2 separate regions of the Homo sapiens genome follow, and region 1 is linked to region 2. Evidence: promoter capture Hi-C in human tissues and cell types (Jung and others, 2019). All regions are on one chromosome and are shown on one strand. The core of a region is centred on a gene start or on the middle of the fragment in contact, and the rest is flanking DNA. Distances in the headings are between cores, read along the strand shown.

What was found. Contacts are between HindIII fragments. The study calls those that stand out against the background at their distance.
Region 1: a fragment that was not itself captured here is called in contact with the fragment with the promoter of POU3F3 in region 2 in 2 of the 25 tissues and cell types used here (adrenal gland and dorsolateral prefrontal cortex).

Annotation. Positions count from the first base shown.
Region 1 is chr2:104,609,884-104,612,583 of GRCh38, reverse strand. The region is part of intron 2 of LOC105373525 (a long non-coding RNA gene); the gene reads right to left. Among named protein-coding and RNA genes, the nearest start is that of LINC01103, 100 kb to the right of the region's middle. The HindIII fragment of the contact is 3,262 bases long and covers 1-2,700 here.
Region 2 is chr2:104,852,710-104,855,409 of GRCh38, reverse strand. It overlaps POU3F3 (POU class 3 homeobox 3), which reads right to left and starts at 1,295. Exons shown (of 1, transcript NM_006236.3): 1 at 1-1,295. It also overlaps a transcript of PANTR1 not described here. RefSeq lists an enhancer at 1,102-1,691. The HindIII fragment of the contact is 12,067 bases long and covers 1-2,700 here.

The sequences.
Region 1 (2,700 bases), core at 38-2,537, 240 kb after region 2:
AATCTGTCACAGAGCAAAAGTTATAAATTTTGATGAAATCCAATTTTTCCAATTTTTCTTTCTTAGCTTGTGCTTTTGGTGTCAAGTCCAAGAACATTTTGCCTAGTCCTGGATCCTAAAGATTTCCTCTTATCTTTTTTCTAAAAGTTTTATATTTTTACATGTGACATTTAAGTCTATGATCCCCTAGTACCTCAGAATGTAATCATACTTTAAGATAATGTAATCATACTTTGAGATAAGATCTTTAAAGGGGCAATTAAGTTAAAATGATGCTGTTAGGGTGGGACCCTAATCGGACTGATCCATTCATAAGAGGAAGAGACGTCAAGGATGAACACAAATAAATGAATGACCACGGGAAAAGGCAGGAAGAGGGTGGCCATCTGCAAACCAAGGTGAGAGGTGTCAGAGGAATTCAATCCTGCTGGCTCCTTGATCTTGAATTTTTAGCCTTCAAAACTCTGAGAAATTAAATTTCTATGGTTTAAGCTATCCAGCCTGTGGTGTTTTGTTTTGGCAGCCCTATCCAACTATTATGGCTGTGTATCAATTTGGAAAGAATTGATACCTTCACCTGGTTCAGTCTTCCAATCCGTGAACTAAGTATATCTCTCCATTTTATGCAGATCTTTGTTTTCCATCATCAGCATTTGCAGTTTTCAGCATGCAAGATCTATACATGTTTCGTTAGGTTTATACCTAAGTACTTCATTTTAAGTAATCACTAATGGTCTTACATTTTTAACTTCTATTTTTAGTATTTATTACTAGTGGATTAAAATATAATTGATTTTTGTGTATTTATCTTGTATTCTGTGACCAAGCTTAGTTCACTTATTAGTTCTAGAAGTTTTCTGAGGGTGGATTCCTTGGGGTAGTCTACATAGGCAACCATGTTTCTACATATAGAGACAGTTTTATTTCTTCTTTTCTGATCAATATGCCTATTATTTCCTTTTCATGCCATACTGTACTGTTGAGATCTTTCAACATTATGTTCAATAGCAATGGTTAGACACATCCTTGCTGTGTTTCCAGTCTTTGCCAAAATAATTCAGTCTTTCACCTTTACGTATAATGTTAACCATATATATTTTGTAGATGCTTTTTACTTGGCTTAGGAAATCCTCATCTATTTCTATTTTTTTCTGAGAGATTTTATCACAGGTGGATATTCAATTTTGTTGAATATTTTTTTCTACATTAATTGGTGTGATCATGTGTTTTTTCTTCTTTACCCTGTTAATATATGGTAGACTACACTGATTAATATTCAAATACTAAACCAGTCTTGCATCCCTGGAATAAACCCACTTAATTGCCTTTTACAATATTAACAAATATTGTTTTGTTAATATTTGTTAAGATTAGTTAATATTTTGTTTGTTAATTATTTGTTAATATTTTATTAAGAACTTCTGCATCTACATTCATAAGGAATAGTGGTCTATAATTTTTTGTTTTGTCTTTTTTTGGTACTGTCTTTATCTGGATTTGTTATCAGAGTAATATTAGTTTCATAAAGTGAATTAGGAAGCATTTTCTCAAATTCTATTTTCTGGAAGAAATTGTGCAAAATCAATAGTCATCTTTTTTTTTTTTTTTTTTTTTTGAGATAGGGCCTTACTTTATTGCCCAGGCTGGAATGCAATGTCTCCCTGCAGCCTCAATCTCCCGGGCTCAAGTGATCCTCCCATCTCAACCTCCCAGGTGGGCACCACCATGCCTGGCATTTTAAAAACTTTTTTTTTTTTTTTTATAGAGATGGGAGTCTCACTATGTTGCCCAGGCTGGTCTCGAACTCCTGGGTTCAAGTGATCCTCCTATCTTGGCCACCCAAATTGTCGGGATTATAGGCGTGAGCCACTGTGCCCAGTGTTAATTCCTTAAATATTTGAAACAAAATCCCCAGTGAAACCATCTGGGCCTAGAGATTACTTTTTACAGAATTTAACATACAAATTTAATTTTCTTGAAAATTGTAAAGTTTTTAAAATTATGTATTTTATATAGGCAAGTTGTGATAATATGTAATTTTTGAAGAACTGTTCTATTTCATCTAAGTTGTCAAATTTACGTATGTACAGTTTTTCTTACTGTTCCCACATTATCCTTTTTACATGGCAGTCTCTGTAGTGATATCACATTTTATTCTTAATGCTAGTAATTTGTACCTTCTCTCTTTGTTTTTGTCAGTCTTGTTAGAAGATTGATTGTATTGATCTTTTCAATTAACCAGCTCTTTGTTTCATTGATTCATTTTATTGTTTTTCTGTTTTCAGTCTCATTGATTTCTGCTTTAATCTTTATTTTTTCTTCCTACTGCTTGCTTTGGATTTATTTTGCTCTCTTTTTCCAAGGTTCTTGAAGTGAGGAGTTGAATTGTTGATTTGAGACACTATATCTTTCCTAGTGGATGAAAATACAATTGATTTTTGTGTATTTATCTTGTATTCTGTGACCAAGCTTAGTTCACTTATTAGTTCTAGAAGTTTTTTGAGGGTGGATTCCTTGGGGTAGTCTACATAGGCAACCATGTTTCTGCATATAGAGACAGTTTTATTTCTTCTATAAATTTCCTTTTGAAAAGTACTTTACCTTTATTCTATAAATCTTGCTATATATTTTTTATTTCAGTTTCTTGTATTTTTCAAGTCCTGGATAGCCTTGTTAACCTTCTGTCTTGTTGATCTGTCT
Region 2 (2,700 bases), core at 46-2,545:
CCCGCCTCCTCCCCCCCTCCTTCCCCGCCCCCGCCCCGGGCCCCCGCCGGCCCCGCCGCCTTCGCCGCCTCCTCCTCCGCCGCCGCCTCCGCCCCCGCCGCCGCCGCCGCCGCCGCGGCCCCCGGCTGCAGCTGCAAGGCCGCTCGGCAGGGCGCGGGGGTCGCCGGCCGGCCTTGGTCACCAGCAGCAGCAGCAGCCGCAGGAGCAGCGCTCTGGGGAGGGGGGCTCGCTTCTCGGGGTGCGCTCCGTGGCCACCCCCTTCAGGGGGGGTCGTGGCCGCCCCCCAGCCCCGGCGCGCTGGGCTCGCTCCAGCGGGGCTCGCCGGGCGGGGCGGGGACCTGCACTCGGGGCGCTCTCCCGGGACGCGCGGGCTCCCGCTCCTCCTCCTGTCCTCGGGCGAGCCCGGACTCTGCCCGGTCGCGGGGCTCCGTCCACCTGCTAAGTGAAGGTTTCACGGGAGATAACAAAGAAAGAAGCTGCTCCTTTCTTCCTTAGCCAAATTACGGATGACCAGCAACCGGCCCGCTCCTTCTCTTGTCCGCTCTCTCCTCTCCTCTCCTCTCCTCCTCAGGAACACATTTCACTCGTTTTCCCTTAGAGTAGTAAAACTTTTTCGTCCTTGAAGGCGTGGTGCTGCTGGCTGCTCGCGAGTGCGGAGAGGGGAGGCTGGCTCCTGCTCTCCCCCTCTGGTCCTCTCGTTTCAAGTTTTGTTCTGTCCTAGGAAAACTTCTTGCGATGGTGCATTTCTCTGAAGTTGCTATTGCCGGAGCTCTTGGTTGCCTCTGAAACAAGAGTCCTTTTTCATTCTCCTCGCAACAGTCACAGTCTGATGCGACATCTTTCCTTTTGGGCAGAAATTAGGAAACAAATATAACAAGGAAAAAATTGAACAGGAAAAAAAATGATGTCGAATCGCTCTGTTACCTTGTTGCTGACGGTTGGGGTTGGTGTTTTATTTTTTTCCCAGCAGTTGTCTGGAGAAGGAGGAGGAAGAAGAGTGCATTGGTGGAGGTGGAGGTGTGTGTGTGCATATAGGGGATCGATCCTTGATACACAACAACTCCAGTGGGCACGCTGCACGGCTCGTAGAGTGCACCGACGGCGGGCGCTGGCGCTGGCCGTGCTGGAGCAGAGTTGCAGCAGGAGCTCGCTCTGCGCCCTCGTTCGCGCTCTCTTTCCCTCTCTCACTTTTCCTCTCCCTCCCTCTCTCTCTCTCCCTCTCTCGGGCGCCCGCTCTCGCTCCGATCTGACAGTTCGCTCTCTGTCCCTCCCTCTCAGAGCGGGGACTGTCGAATGTTTACCCTCCGCCGCGAGCGCGCACCCACCACCACACTTTCCCAAATACAAGGAAGTCGAGCACCAGGGCCCCCGCTGATTGGCTACCCGCTGGGTGATTGGCAGGCTCGGAATGACTGGCTCAGGACGCGAGGCCCCCCTTCCGGCCGTTCCGATTGGTTGCTTTTTAATTTAGGCAGAGCGTCGTAGAAGCTGGAAATCTGTCGTCCTCCAGCCTCCCTCCCCCTCACCACTTTCCCCTCCCCGCCCCTCCCCCGCCGCCCCCTCCGCCACATCTTAACTCTTAGTGTCCGGCCCAGACGTTGGCGTTCCCTCGGCGGCTCTGGGCGTTCGCAATAGGTCTGGGCGGGGGGAAGAAAGGGGAGATAAAAGGGAGGGAGGGACGAGAGGGGGGAAGAGAATCAGAAGGAAAACGAAGGGGGAAACATGAAAAATAGCAACCTGCCCACCCCACCTAGTACGCGTCGGGTTGCTCACCCCCTTACCCCCGCCCCGCCAGAGATTTGTAAAGCGCGCGGCACGGATGTACCATTCAAGCTAATACCTATAGACAGATGTGTCCCCAGTGGTTTCAAAGTTTCCTCTTCCCTTCACCAGCCGGCCCCCTTCTCTGATCGGCGGGGGTGGGAAGCGGGGGCTCGCATCGCCAAGAGCTCTGGTCGTGGCCACGCTCCTTGGAAATCCGCCACCGCAACTTTCCGCAGCCGTTGCGCGCCGGCGGCAGCCCCCTTTGTTTAAGTTCTCGGATGCCATCATCTGGGAAACCTGCAGCCCAGGACCAGCGCGGTGCCCGCGCGTGCGAGACGGACCGCTCGCTGCCGCCGCTCCCTGGCTCCTCCACCCCCTCTCTCCCTCCTTCGCTCTCCCTCCCTTCCTCCCTCCTCCCTCCTCTGGGATTCGTGCAAGTAGCGTGCGTGCCCTTGTGAGTTTGGAGGGTGCCGGTCAGCGGAGCCGTGCGATGTATTTGAAAAGCAATCAGTCCGACCTTCCCCCATAGATTCATCGTAAGTGTATTCGACCCCAATGGCTTTAGGAATTCCCTGTGGCAGCAGGAGCCGGGCGAAAGAACCGGGATCGGCTAGCCGCGCCCTTCTCTGCTCCACCGCTTCCTCGTGTGTGTGTGTGTGTGTGTGTGTGTGTGTGTGTGTGATTAGCGGTGGGGGGGTTTGCTCGCTCTCTATTCTTAGGCATGGTGGTGCTTTTTTTTCTTTCCTTTCTGTCTCAGATGGATTTGCGTGGTGGATGGGGCTGGCGGCGACAAATGCTTTCTCAGCTCTAACCCAGCTGAAAGAGTTAAGGGGGATGGGAGGGGGAGTGCACCCGGTAGGCGAGAGAAGCGGGGGTGGGGTGGGGTGGGGTGGGGGGACGCGGCCAAGCGGAAACGCTGCACAGAGGAACCTCAGC